Regions from separate parts of the Homo sapiens genome. Here all the other regions are linked to region 1. The links are contacts of gene promoters, found by promoter capture Hi-C in blood cells and fetal thymus (Javierre and others, 2016). All regions are on one chromosome and are shown on one strand. The core of a region is centred on a gene start or on the middle of the fragment in contact, and the rest is flanking DNA. Distances in the headings are between cores, read along the strand shown.

Region 1 (3,690 bases), core at 887-3,386:
TTTTTTTGCAATGGCGCGATCTCGGCTTACTGCAACCTCTACCTCCTGGGTTCAAGAGATTCTCCTGCCTCAGCCTCCCAAGTAGCTGGGATTACAGGCACCCACCACCATGCCTGGGTATGTTTTTGTATTTTTAGTAGCGACTGGGTTTCGCCATGTTGGCCAGGCTGGTCTCGAACTCCTGACCTCAGGTGATCTGCCCGCCTCAGCCTCCCAAAGTTCTGGGATTACAGGCGTGAGCCACTGCTCCTGGCACCGTTTATTTTGCTTTCTTTATCAGAGCAGGAGAAAGTACTAGCTCAGGAATTGGGAGATAGGATCCAATTTCCAGCTATTTCCTGTTCCAGTACACTTAACTAAGAGTGCCTCAGGTGTACTTAACTAAGAGTGCCTCAGTATACACTGCCTATACTGTATTCCAAGAGGCACAAAAGACTCACTAATTTTCCTTATTGCTAGCAATCCCAGTATCCCTATTAAGTAAAACTGAAAGCTATTATAACATTTATTGACTGCTGACTACATGTTGAGCACTGTCATATAAGCACCTTATATGTTGTCACGGATGCTGTGCGGTGCCACCCAGATCCCGTCTTGGGGACTGTGATCATCATTTCCCAGGGTGTTAGTCTCTCTCCAGGAATTGCTCTTGACAAAGGGCACTGCCTTAAGATTAGGCTGTCTTCTTGGGCAGCTGTATGCAATGAATGGTCTTTATGGGGTTACCAGGGCCTTGTCCTCTTGCTTCAGTGGACAGTTCCAAAGGGCCAGCTGAGCTTCCGGGCATTCCTTGGAACCAGCTGGGGTCTCTGTTGAAATGGCATGGCCTTCAACTCCTCCCTCTGCCCAGACCTGCTTTCTTTACTCCCTCTTAATTCTGATAACTCTCCCCAGTAAACCTCCTGCATGCAAGTGTCTACCCGAGTCTAGTTCCTAGGAACTCAAACTAAGAATTAATTTATTTAGTTCTCACAACCACCTTATGAAATAAGTTGTTCTCTTCGTAGAGACAAGGAAATGGAGGCATAGAAAGGTTAAGCAGTTTGCCTCGTCTCCCATCAGTAGCCAGTTAACAGTGAACGTGGCCTTCCTGCAGCTGGGTCTTCAGCAGGTCACCTGGCAGAGCCATGACTTGAAACCTGAAAATCTAACTCTAGACCCTGTACTTTTAACCTCACATACAGCCTCTTAATAGCAATCCCAATGCCTTTATGGGAAGATGAGGTGAGAGGAAGGGCATTTATTACCTTTATGTCAGAGATGGAGACAATAAGGTATTAACTGCTTAAACCCAGGATCGTCCACAGGTATAGCCGTGACCGGGTACTAACCTTTGTGTGTGTGTGTGGTGTGTGTGTGTGTGTGTGTGTGTGTGTGTGCAATGGAAAAAGAATGGCAAATTCACATTTGAATTTTGGAGCCAACACTTACTAGCTGCACATCTTTGAGCAAGTTATTTAATAACTAAGACTTTGAGCAAGTCTTACTTATGTGCCTAGCACATAGTAGGTGTTCAATAAACTACTCATCCCTATTCCACTTTTCTGTCATCTCCAACTGTGATCTTGGACAAGTTTATTTAGCTTTCTGATTCTCGATTTCTTCATCTATAAAATGGAGATGATGATGAAGAGCTTACTTAGCCCCGTGTCCATCATGGTAAGAGCCTCGTAAAGGGTACTTATCAGTATAATCAGATGCTGTTTTGCCCAGGTTTGCACCCTGTGCGCCTGTCCTCAGGACCCAGCAGGCTCAGACTTGCCTGCGATCAAAGAAAGCCCTGTGTGCCTCCCAGACCCACCACCCCCGTGCAAACTCTCTCAACACGACACCGCTGCGTGACTTTCCTGCTGTTACTAGAGGTCGGCAGGTACTTTTCCCTAGGAAACTGGGTGTGCACGTCTCATCCCCGTGCCAATTCTCTTGCCGCTTTTCCTTCCACACGCGGCGTCCTCTGGGCGGAGGGTGCAGCTCCGCGTGCTCCAGCTGCCGCGAAAGTTGCACCCGGCCCAGTCTGGCTGCGGGCCCCGCCTCCGCCTTCTCAGCGCCCAGCCCCACCCTCCGATTGGTCAGCAGTGCCCAGCCCCGCCCCGCTCCTCCGAGGGGATTTAAAGCAGCGGCCGCTCAGTCTGGGCGCTTGCAGGCTGCTAAACCCAACCGCAGTTGACTAGCACCTGCTACCGCGCCTTTGCTTCCTGGCGCACGCGGAGCCTCCTGGAGCCTGCCACCATCCTGCCTACTACGTGCTGCCCTGCGCCCGCAGCCATGTGCCGCACCCTGGCCGCCTTCCCCACCACCTGCCTGGAGAGGTAAGGGGAGGTTGTCCAACTGCTTGGGGGAAGTCCCACCAACTCTTAGGGAGTGGAGCGGCAGGCCTGGGGACCTGGGTGGGCGCGGGGATGGGGCGCTAGAGGCTTGAGTAGAGAGGTAGAAGCGCACTTGATGCCACGTGCTCAGATTCCAGGAGCAGGGAGAAAGCAAGGGGAAGGGAAGCAAGGGCCCGCGGCTTGCTGCCATCCCCATCCTCTGACAAACTGCAGTCGTGCTCAGGTGACCTGCTGAAGACCCGGCTGCGGGAAGGCCACGTTGACATTTCCAGGCAGCACTGAGCCTGCCCATTTCTTAAGCATTTGTTTTTCATTCCTCAGACCAGAGCTAGGGGCATTGCCTCCTCTGCCCCTGGAAGACAGGGAGATTTTTTTTTTTTTGGTGGGGTGTGTGGGGGTGGGGGCTCCCACTGTTGAGGGTGTGTCCATATTCCAGAGAGCTACTCAACAGCTTCCAATCCTTACTGGCTGGGAAGGAAAAAGTAAAGATGAAGGCAGGAATCAGTTTCCCACACAGTTCAGAAATACTTCTGAAAAGAATGCTGAGTTCTTTTCTGAATCAACAGGCACGAAGAGAGATCAGTGTGACTTTAGGGAAAAGCCCATATATGCAGCGTGTGTATTACCCAGAAAGTGTAAGACCTACCACAGCATAGCTCAAACATTGCTTTTGTTGCTTTGGGGTTGATGATGCTGATAAGAGAAGCACTCTTGGCCTGGGGACAGCCAAGAGTTTCCAGGAACTCTTGAGGCTAAAGTTTGGGTGGCACCACCCAGAGCTCTTCTGGGACCCATAAACCTCTCCACACTGGCTGAGCAAATGAGAGAATGCTTTCATGTTCCTGATTTGTTTTTCAGAGCCAAAGAGTTCAAGACACGTCTGGGGATCTTTCTTCACAAATCAGAGCTGGGCTGCGATACTGGGAGTACTGGCAAGTTCGAGTGGGGCAGTAAACACAGCAAAGAGAAGTAAGTGTTGCTGACCAGCTCAGGGCTCCGAGAGGGAAGGGAGTGGGAAGGGAGTCATGAGGAGGGAAATACAGGGAGAAGCCAGGACACGCTAAGTGGACCTTGGCAACACCTCCCTAGAGATTTTAGTGGGACTTGTTGCTGGTCTGTTATGACTACTTGGCTCATGGGTGAGTGGGTAGGTGGCTCCAGGGCTCCAAGTCCATCCACGGATGAGGGCACACAGGGCATGAATGCCTAGTTCCCAGACTCTCCCACCTCGGGATTCATTGCACGTGCATCCAGGGCTAGGACAGAATCCAAGACCACTTGAAGTTTTCTAGTATGCACCTTGCCTAGAAACTCTTTCATATTGGCTATCAACTGTACCAAACTCTGGAGTTATGTGTAGATG
Region 2 (3,690 bases), core at 841-3,340, 500 kb after region 1:
GAGCCCAGGAGGCGGAGGTTGCAGTGAGCTGAGATCACGCCATTGCACTCCAGCCTGGGTGACAGAATGAGATTCCATCTCAAAAAAAAGACGAATTATAATGATTAAACTATAGTGTTTAGGATTAATGCATAGGTGGTAAAACTACAATGAAAAGCAAACAAGTGATTTCCACAAAAGTCAGGGTAGTTTTTTCCTTTGAAGGGAAAGGAGGAGGTAATAATTGAAAGGCATCAAAAGGGCCACTTCTGGGATTCCGGCAATGTCTAGTTCTTGATTTTACCTGGGTGTTTGCTTTGTGATAAATCACTGAGCTGGACATTTTTTGTTTTGTGTACTCTTTGGTAGATAAGTTATATAGTTCACAATAAAAAAAGTTTTATACACACACACACATTTAACGCCATATATATGTTAAACACCTAGCTTCGTGCCTGGCACATAATAAATACTCAAGAACATAAAATCACTTCTCTTCTTTCTTTCTAGCATTCCACCTTTCCTTCTTTCTTTCTAGCAAAGAAAAAAGAAAAAAAGAAACATGTGAATTTTCATAAACATTTTCCTAGTACACGCACAATCTTTCTCGCTTTCTTGCAACAATCTCACTGTCATGGAAACTGCAATTAAAAGTGGAGCCTGTGGAGAGAAGGAGAGATAGGAGCACAACAGCCTGAACTCGATTACCTCTTTGCAAGAGGAAATTCTCACTGATAACTGAATTCTGGAACTCAAAACCTAAAGTACCCATTAACACATAATATGCTTGTTGGCTTTATATTTTTAATTTTCCCTTCCAAAGCAACAAAGCAAAACCTTTGTTTAAAAGCTTCCCTTTGCTACAGGTTGCAGTTAATCCTATAATCACTGGGTGAATGTTTATCGAGCCAGACATTCTTTGTGGGTCAGAGAAGCAAGAGGCCAGCAGTGAAGGTATTGTCTTGCAGGCGACTGCGATGCAGAAAGAATGTGGTTAGGTGAGGTTGGGTGACAGGCACAGCGGGCTGTGGGCTGCAGGGATCCCTGGGACAGGCATGCTCCAGCCTGTGTCCACTAGGCAGGATGTCTGCGCCTGCCCTCATGCCTCAGCTCCTTCCCACAGCCACTTGACATGTTGGGAGCTGGGGTAAAGCCTAATGATACTTGGGGAGAAGACTTCAATTCTATCAGCTGAGAAATCAAAGACATTTGAAAATCAAGGAAGTGCCAAAGACTACTTTAAAATGATCTCTGCCCAGGTTTCCCCCATTCCCTGAAACATACAACCAATTCACCTGAAAATTACCAACTTGGAAAGAGATGAAATAATAGATTTCTGTGCCTAAAAATGATCAACAAGTCCAAAAGGCCAAAAATTGAAAGCACAAAGGACATTGGGGGCTTATTTTCAGCTGATATTGAAATTTTTCCTTGTGACCTCAAAGGAAATTCCACCTTTAGCAGAGATTTGCTCTGGAAGGGGGATTAGACTAGAATTCCTTATGGACTGGGAAGGAGGTAGAAGACAGGGGAAGGGATTCAGGAGAGGACATCTGCACCCCATGTTTTTAGACCTGTGGAATTAGGCAAGAGACATTCTGCTGGTTTGGTAGAAGTGGGACTCTCTGAAGACTAGATTACGTATTAATTAATTCAGCATATAGTTATTGAAGACCTACAGTATGCCTGTGCTGTGCCAGCTGCAGGAGTTGGACCGGAAAACCAGAGAGGCTGTGTCCCTCACCACATGGAGTCTATAAACAGAAGGGCAACAGGGCATATTGGTAGACTCCAACTGGGCCAGAGAATTTACTGGCCAAGATAACCTCCAGTTCCTCCATTTCTGTTGCAGAAGTCTGGTGAAGGGAAGCAAGGTGTGGAAAAACATGAGAAGAAAGCTCTTGTAGAAGGCCTGTCTCCACAAGGACCTCACCTGTACATAGGAAAGATGGACAAGGTAGGAAGTCCTAGCCAGAGCAATCAGGCAAGAGAAAAAAAGGCCGAGGCAGGGCGTGGGGTAGCATCTGAATTGGGAAAAAGGAAGTCAAACTATCTCTGTTTGCCAATGATATGGTCTTATACCTAGAAAACTCTGAAGACTCTTTCAAAAGACTCCTCAATTTGATAGATGAATTCAGCAAAGTCTCAGGTTACAAAATCAAAGTATGCAAATCAGTGGCACTCATATACACCATTAAAGACCACGTTGAGAATAAAATTAAGAACTCAATCCCACTTACAATAGTTACCAAAAAAAACAAAAACACCTTAGGAACATACTTAACCAAGGAGGTGAAAGACCTCTACAAGGATAACTACCAAATACTGATGAAAGAAATCATAAATGGCCAGGCATGGTGGCTCATGCCTGTAATCCCAGCACTTTGGGAGGCCAAGGCAGTCGAATCACTTGAAGTCAGGAGTTCAAGACCAGCCTGGCCAACATGGCAAAACTCTGTCTCTACTAATAATACAAAAATTAGCCAGGTGTGGTGGTGCATGCCTATAATCCCAGCTACTTGGGAGGCTGAGGCACAAGAATCGCTTGAACCCTAGAGGCAGAGCTTGCAGTCAGCCGAGATCGCATCACTGCATTCTAGCCTGGGTGACAGAGTGAAACTATGTCCAAAAAAAAAAAAAAAAGAAAGTAAAAGAAAGGAAAGAAAAGAAAGGAAGGAAGGAAATCATAAATGACACAAACAAATGGAAAAACATCTCATGCCCATGAATTGAAACAATCAATATTATGAAAATGACCATACTGCCCAAAGCAATCTACAAATTTAATGTAATTCCTATCAAACTACCAATATCATTTTTCACATAATTAGAAAAAGCAATCCTAAAATGTATATGGAATCAAAAAAGAGCTGGAATTGCCAAAGCAATCCTAGATAAAAAGAACCAATCTGAAGGCATCACATAACCCAACTTCAAATTATATTACAAAGATATAGTAACCAAAACAGCATGGTACTGCGATAAAAGTAGACACATAGACCAGTGGAATGGAATAGAGAACCTAGAAATAAAGCCAAATACTTACAACCAACTGATATTTGACAAAGATCAACAAGGCAGACAAAAACACACACTGTTCAATAAATGGTGCTGGGAAAACTGGATTACCATATACAGAAGAAGGAAACTGGATCCCTATCTCTAACCATATATAAAAATTAACTCAAGCTGAATTAAAAGACTTAAATTAAATTTAAGACCTGAAACCATAAAAATTCTAGAAGGATATCTAGGAAAACCTCTCTGGACGTTGGCCTATGCAAAGAATTTATGACTAAGACCCCAAAAGCAAATGCAACAAAATAAACACAAAAATAAATAAATGGAACATAATTAAACTAAAAAGCTTTTGCACACCAAAATAAATAATCAACAGAGTAAATAGATAACCTATAGGATGGGAGAGAATATTGGCAAACTCTACATCTGACAAAGGACTAATATCCAGAATCCACAAGGAACTCAAACAAATCAGCAAAGGAAAAAAAAATCCCATTGAAAAGTGGGCAAATGACATGAACAAACATTTTTCAAAAGAAGATATACAAATGGCCAAATAACATGAAAAAATGCTTGATATTCCTAATCATCAGGGAAATGCAAATTAAACCATGATGAAATACCACCTTATCCCAATCAGAATAACTATTACTAAAAAGTCACAAAAGCAATAGATGTCAGTACGGATGT
Region 3 (3,690 bases), core at 445-2,944, 480 kb after region 1:
GTGCACTGATGTGCTAAAACAGGTGCAGGCCTGGCTAGGGTTTCATTCACAAGCATGACTGAATTGTTCTTTCTATATACAAAGTTCCTATTCTATGATTGGCCTTGAAAACACAGAGATAACAAAAAATGTCCAGTTCCTGCCTCCAGGGCTTGCAGCATGGTGGTGGAGACAGACTTGTAAAAGAGCCACACCGCAAATGAGAGCAAAGAGTAGAAGCTCCTAACTCAGCCTGGAGGAATCAGAGGAGGCTCCTGGGAAGAAGATGTCTGAGTGAGGGTTATGAGGTGGCTGGGAGCTGGCCAGGGAAGGGGTGGTAATGAGGCAAAGGACAAAATGAAGGCTTTCCAGACTAAGGGGAGAGGGTGAGCAAGGGCGTGGAGGCCCCAGGAGCAGAGTGAGTTCAGGGAGGTCATACAAGCAGTTCCTCATGGCTGATAGGGCAGGGAGTAGCAAAACATGAGGCCAGAGATGCAAGCTGGGGGTTAGAAAATATCTGAATGTAAGGAAATATCTGAGCACAACATTATACAAGTTCATGCAAATCACTTGCAAAACAAGATGTATCCTGTCAATAAACCTATTCATAAGGTTGAGAGGGTGGACACATTGGTAACAGAACCTCACTGCCAAGATCAACAGTTTGCATGCTGGAAGAATTATTTATGTATTCATTTAATCTAATCACATGTATACGGCATGTGCTAAGTGCCAGGCACTAAAGGCCCCCATGATAAATTCTATATTCCTAACACAATGACTAGCACTTAGCACTCTGTCCAAAGTGGGCATGCCGTAGATAATTGTTGAATGAATAAATGAATGACCAATTTGTGCTTCTGTCAAAAGAGTTTACAGTCTAGTGGGAGAATCAGAGAGGTAAGCAAATTATATTCTATCAAATCATTATACTTAGGATAGGGCAGGGAATTCATCTTACAAATGTCTGCAAGGGCCAGGCAAGCAGGGTAACTAAATGAAAAGATCTCCTGGTGTAAGACAATAGGGAATAGTGCAGACCGCAGCAAGTGGTGAGTATGAGCCCATTCTAAAGGGGAACAGCTGCTACTCAATTCCAAACCGATTAGGATCAAAAGGAGCTAGAAATTTGTATTTTAGTCAAAGGAAATGTTATTTTCTAAATTGGTTGCTCCCAGATGCTCAGGATTCCAGCAGAATTAGCCTGGTATGGAGGCAGTGATTAGTAGGAAAGAGACCTGACAAGCTGCCTTTCTGGATGGACGTAGTATGGGATTCAGTAACCTCTGTAATCAGAAGGGGACACCACAGCCCTCAGTGCCAAGAGGGTAAACCATGTTAGGTGCTGCCAGCATCCAAGACCCCTGCTCCTCGGTAGCCCTTTGGGCTCCTGTGCACCTAGCGAGACCGTAACTTTAAGTCAATCTCTGACCTTCTTAGGCCTGACCCAGGCTCCAGGGCAGCTCCTCCCCTAGACTGCCACGGGACTTCTGTGGCAGTGGCTAATTCCCTGGCCATGGGGATCTGTTTGGGGCTGTTTGTTTTGCAGAAGAAAACAGAAGGCCGCAGTGTATCGGAATTCTGCCCCTCCTCCTGCACTACTGCCTCCCCCACCACATGAAAGCTGCTGAGCAAACAGAGAAATCAAAGATGATTATACGCTGCTGGAAACCCGCGTGCTTCCGCCTGGCTGCATCTCCCTGCCAAACTGTTATGTAAGCCGCAGCCCCACTCAGGCCTGGAATCAAACAGAGATGCCATTTAGAGCCCTCCCGTGACCCGCTCCTCACCTGTAGCCTGGCTCAAACCGTGTCTCACCTGGAGTAGACCTGCCCAGGGAGGGCCATGCATGCTCTGTGGCTGGCAAAGTGGCTTTTCCATTTGTTTTGGGATTTCCCTCTCTCCTTTCCCATCCAGCACAGAGGTATGGATGGGTCAGGACCAGGCGTTTACTTTGGTTAGATTCCAAATGACTAAGATATTTTATGATGGAAAACTCCATTTGACAATCCCAGGGAGTTGAGTGTTTTTCACCCTCCTAAGTGAATAATTCACTTTGGCTGTTTAGATATCAGAGCTGAACAAGTGGCTCTGGAGCCCAAGATGACCTCCTGGCCAGAAAGGGCCTAACCGCACTGCTCTGATGACCAGTACTTATTTCTATTTAGGGATTCTGGGCATCTTCCGCAGCCCTAAACCACCTAAATGGACTTATAAGAGCTGTTCCTTAAATGCGTCAGTGACTTGGGTAAATGAGCTGAATTCTCAGGGCTTTATTTTTTTTTCTTTCTGCATCACTCAATGACTCCACAATAAGTGTGCTACAAGTTTTAAATGCTAATATTGGATTTTGGACACTGTTACAGTTATATCTGAAGTAAGATGTCAGGCTGTTTGGCGTTAACAGTGCCCAAGAGTTTATATTCGTATCTATTCAACGCTGACCTCCATTACTCTCTCCCTTTTGCAGCCTTAACTGACCATGCTCCAGTGTGAGGGACTCAGATCTCAAGTAGAAGAGGCCTGAACTTTGGAGTCAGATAACGCCTGTATTGGAGCTATAGCTTAGTCTTTCAGAGCCTATGGGACCTTGTGCTGTGGCCCGAACCATGCTAAATCCCTGGAGCCTCCCGATTTCCCTTAATTTTCCTACATTCCATCAGAAATGCACAAAGATTCCAAGAGGGCCAATTCTGGCTTTGGAAAATGATTCACCATCCTCCACCTCTCACTTGTTCCAGTATGGAAAGGGTGAACAGGAAACCCTTTGCTATTTGGTGAGATCGACCCAGGAGTGAGGCATTAGACTGGAATCTCTGGACCCTCATCTTTTTTTTTTTTTTTTTTTTGACAGAGTCTTGTTCAGTCACCCAGGCTGCAGTGCAGTGGCACGATCTCCGCTCACTGCAACCTCCTCCTCCCAGGTTGAAGCGATTCTTCTGCCTCAGCCCACCGAGTAGCTGGGATTACAGGCGCATGCCACCACATCGGCTATTTTTTTGTATTTTTAGAAGAGGCAAGGTTTCACCCTGTTGGCCAGGCTGGTCTCGAACTCCTGACCTTGTGATCCCCCTGCCTCAGCCTCCCAAAGTGCTGGGATTACAGGCATCAGCCAACACACCCAGCCCTGGCCCTCATCTCTTTTCCCATTAATGCTGGAGGGGGCGCCTCACAAACCAAGACACCTGCTAGTCGTTGGACTCACTCTTGATGACCAAGGTGCCGTATCTAGTAATTGATACAGTTATCTTTTCCTGGGAATATGAATAGCAGGTTCTTAGTCCTTGCACAGGCATTTTAAAAATGCACAAACCAAAGAAAAAAATTGCTTTTTCCAGATCCCAATCCCTAGCAGGACTAGTCAATAGGTCCCTGTATCCAGATAAGAGAAGGGATTTATGGGAGCATCCCATAAGCACATGGCAGGGAAAGAGAACAAATTCTAAATGTCCTGAGAACTGTTTTTTACCAAGCATTGCATTGTCACCATGCTGTAAAAGTAATAAACTTCCCTCCCATTGTCTGAATCTAAATAGGGGAACCAACCTCCAAGTCCAACCCCCTTCCTCAGGGAAACTGCTTCTCACTGTGCTTCAACATGACCTTTGGCTGGGAACTAAAATGTGAGTCTGAATTTGGTAAAGCTTGGATCCTTTCATTTTTCCCAACTCTCCCAGTCCAGAGGGATAAAAATCCCTGCTCCTAAAACCC
Region 4 (3,690 bases), core at 1-2,500, 280 kb before region 1:
AGTTGGCGCTGCCACCATAGCCTCCGCTACCATAGCCTCCACTGCTATAGCCACCGCCATAGCCTCCACCACTGTAACTAGAACCTCCCCTTCTATATCCGCTTCCATTGTCGTATCGGGCCATCTTGGGAGGACGTGGACCATCTCCATACCTAGGAAAAGCACAAAACCATCACTTTAGCAAAGCATTCTTATTATTTCCCAACGACTTACCAAATGTACACATTTAGTTATATTTGAAAATTTAATAAAGGGAATGAAGCCAAATGCACAAATAGAAATTGAAATAAAATTGATCTGCTATTCTAAAACAGTCATCAATTGTATCCATCTGTTTTTCTGAAGTTCTGGTTCAATCTCAAAGGTTTTGAATTTTGGCAGTATGTCATTAGAACTTTAAGACAGTCCTCTTACTCAGTTCAATAACATAAGTGTTCCAAGAAGGCAAGCATTAGGAGAGGGTTCCTGGAGCTGCCAATAAACTATTTGGTCTTTATCACCAGATGTTTTCCTGCAATAATTCTGAAATATGATTTTGAAAAATGTCCTTGGTAATAATGCCTAAATCTGTTTCATGTGGCAAATAAGGAAAATAAAGCGAATAAAAAATTGCAGAAATCAAGATGGACTGTCAACAACTTCAATTAAACATATCCCCAATCTGCTTATTATTCCTGTGCAGCTTTTCTTCGAGAATAACACCACCAATTCAGCAGCTAAGTCAGAAATATGGCTGTGTGGCTGGGTGCAGTGGTTCAGGTTTGTAATCCCAGCACTTTGGGAGGCTGAGGTGGGTGGATCACCTGACGTCAGGAGTTAGAGACTAGCCTGGGCAACATGGCAAAACCCTGTTTCTACTAAAAATACAAAAATTAGCTGGGCGTGGCAGTGTGTGCCTGTAATCCCAGCTGCTCGGGGGGTTGAGGCAGGAGGATCACTTGAACCCAGAAGGCAGAGGTTGCAGTGAGCCAAGATGGCACCACTGCACTCCAGCCTGGACAACAGGGCAAAACTGACTCTCAAAATAAATAAATAAATAAATAAATAAATTTAAAAAAAAATAAAAATAAAAATAAATGACTGTAATCTGTCTTCCTTCTTTCATTGCACTATTCCATTTTAGTCCATCACCAATTCCTATTGATTCTACCACAAATCTGTCTAATCCAGTCACATCTCCCCATTGCAATTCTACTACTGTAATTTAAGCCACCACATATTCATACATCCTAAACTCTCTTGCATATATCCCTTTCTTTCTAGTTTCCGGACTGTTATCCTTCATAGAAACAGATTATATACACAGCGGCTCCTTGCTTACCAGCCCTCCTACCAAAAATAATCTCTCTTCTCCTAAACACCCATGAATACTTCATTTGTTATCTGCCTATGACGGTTATTGAATTATTCTATGCATTTAACCACCTAGGAGGGCCACAGAATAGCATAGTAAGAGCACTGTTTCAGGAGCCATGTTGCCTGGGTTTGAACCTGGTTCTATCAGTTATTAGCTGTATGACCTTGGGTCTTATCTGTGCCTGGTTTCCTTGTTTATATTAAAGAGGATGAGGATAACAATCTACCCATCTTACAGATAGATCAAATGCCAATACATCATTTTTGATGAGGAATTAGAGGTCATTTTTGGATAACTGGAAGAATTTTAGTACCTTAGTATATTATAGTATTACTAAAACACTTAAGGTTTTGGGGTGTGATTGTGGTATTGTGGCCATGTTCTTAAAAGACATGAAGTGTATTGATGTAAAATGTGGTAATGCCTGCTACTTCATCACAAATATTAAGCAAATACAAAATGCTGAAAATTAGTGAACCTAAATAAAGACTATATGGCTATACATTGTATCACTCTTCTTGCCTTTTTGGTAAGTATCAAGTATATGTAAATAAAAATTAGTGGGCAAAGAAAAAATTTTAAAACCTGAAGCAAATAAAAATTTTAAGAATTAAGATAAATTTCTCATTTCTTTAAGATATCCATGCTCTAGTTGTTTAAGATAAACAAAAACACATATACATTTGATACAGAAACAATTTAACATCTCATCAATATTTTTCTTTAGAGATGCCAAAACAGTACCATGGAAAAAGGGCTATCTGGGCTGTGTCACTTCCCTGTCATGTGACCCACTCTGAACTATGTATGTGCATTTGTAAGTTCCTTCTAACACTACCAACATGCACTGATGCAGCAGACCAACTACTAACAAAAAAGTAAATGACATTCTTTGTTCTGAGTATGTTAGAACTCAGAACATCAAACTCTCTATCTATATAGCTCTATCTATATCTAGAATTTTACTTAAGTAATAGGGCTTCTATCACTAACTTCAGGAATTCTAGGCCTACATAAGATCTCTCCCCTCTACTTGGTTCAGTAAGAAGTATATTGGTACTCACCGTGTACTGCCAATCATAAGGTTGATACCAGCAGCTGAGGGTCTAGAGATCTGACGGATCATGTTCAGCATACGTTCATTTACGGGGTCCAACTGGCTGATGATAGCAGGTTGTTTGGTTACTTCAACAACCAAAGCCTCCATGGCTGCCCGGAGACCAGTGATACAGGCAGCAGCTTCATGAGATATTTGCAGTTTAATCCTAAAGTGGCGAAATACATTAAAAATAAGAGAGGGAGTATATGTAGAAAAAGACCATTATCTCTCAACTTCACACATGGCACATTATAGAATAAATTTAACTTCTTAAGCATTAATATTAAAAAAAAAAACTACTTATAATGGCCCCAAACTTAGGCAAACACAGATATGAAGAGTAGTTATAATCAGCACTAGCTTCTTAAAATTCACTGCTAGCTATGAGCAGGAGTCTTAAGCCAAAAAGTCTATCAAGCCAAATAAAATATAATAAAAATATATGCAATATATAATAAACAAAAAACAAAGTCCAGCAATATGGATCATTCAGACTTTCTTTTTTTTTGAGACAGAGTCTTGCTCTGTTGCCCTCGCTGGAGTGCAGTGGCGTGATAGCTCATTGCAACCTCCAACTCCCAGGTTCAAGTGATTCTCCTGCCTCAGCCTCCAGAATAGCTGGGACTACAGGTGTGCGCTACCACACGGGGCTAATTTTTTTGGATTTTTCGTAGAGACAGGTTTCACCATGTTGTCCAGGCTGATCTTGAACTTCCTGAGCCCAAGTGATGTGCCGCACCCAGCCAGATCATCCAGACTTTAAAATAATGAATTTAAGAGACCCAGAATACTGGCATTTTCTAGGTTTTCAAGAATATGATGGCTGAGCCTACTGGCTGTCCATTAAGCTCTATTCCATTTTTGCCCAGTGCTTACCACTAGTTTTGAATCAATATACAGAGTATGTGAAAGGGTACTCAAGCTTCACTTAGATTCTGATTCCATAGTGGTGGTGTGCCTAGTGGTAGACATGGCTCAAATTCCTAATGCATTTGCTTCTACTGGTATCAATTTAAGATTAAGTATATAGTATATAATTAAGTTAGATATAATTAGTATATAATTAAGTTAGATTAGCAGCTGAATTCCATCATATTGTAATTCTAAGAATTCAGTTTGGAGTTCACATCTGAAAATCCATACCAGTCATCTACAAGCACAATCTGCCCATCAGATTGGACTTTCTTGGAGGCAAAGAGAAGCAACTGCAGGGGGGTGACTAAAGTCATGCCTT

What was found. The method cuts DNA at HindIII sites, captures the fragments that hold promoters and counts their contacts. A CHiCAGO score of 5 or more calls a contact.
Region 2: a fragment that was not itself captured here is called in contact with the fragment with the promoter of RGS16 in region 1 in 4 of 17 cell types (M0 macrophages, M1 macrophages, erythroblasts and 1 more); the score reaches 8.4 in M0 macrophages.
Region 3: a contact is called between a fragment that was not itself captured here and the fragment with the promoter of RGS16 in region 1, in 2 of 17 cell types (M1 macrophages and M2 macrophages). The highest score is 6.3, in M1 macrophages.
Region 4: a contact is called between a fragment that was not itself captured here and the fragment with the promoter of RGS16 in region 1, in 2 of 17 cell types (naive CD8 T cells and activated CD4 T cells). The highest score is 6.5, in naive CD8 T cells.

Annotation. Positions count from the first base shown.
Region 1 is chr1:182,602,835-182,606,524 of GRCh38, reverse strand. It overlaps RGS16 (regulator of G protein signaling 16), which reads left to right and starts at 2,136. Exons shown (of 5, transcript NM_002928.4): 1 at 2,136-2,309; 2 at 3,186-3,296. The coding sequence starts at 2,266. RefSeq lists enhancers at 1,822-1,901, 2,372-2,421, 2,512-2,571. The HindIII fragment of the contact is 22,726 bases long and covers 1-3,690 here.
Region 2 is chr1:182,098,845-182,102,534 of GRCh38, reverse strand. No RefSeq gene overlaps it. Among named protein-coding and RNA genes, the nearest start is that of ZNF648, 39 kb to the right of the region's middle. RefSeq lists a silencer at 827-1,121 and an enhancer at 819-1,589. The HindIII fragment of the contact is 2,517 bases long and covers 832-3,348 here.
Region 3 is chr1:182,118,894-182,122,583 of GRCh38, reverse strand. No RefSeq gene overlaps it. Among named protein-coding and RNA genes, the nearest start is that of ZNF648, 59 kb to the right of the region's middle. RefSeq lists a silencer at 1,396-1,690 and an enhancer at 1,396-1,690. The HindIII fragment of the contact is 3,862 bases long and covers 1-3,625 here.
Region 4 is chr1:182,883,545-182,887,234 of GRCh38, reverse strand. It overlaps DHX9 (DExH-box helicase 9), which reads right to left. Exons shown (of 28, transcript NM_001357.5): 26 at 3,600-3,690; 27 at 2,422-2,622; 28 at 1-152. Among named protein-coding and RNA genes, the nearest start is that of DHX9-AS1, 46 kb to the right of the region's middle. The HindIII fragment of the contact is 4,260 bases long and covers 1-3,380 here.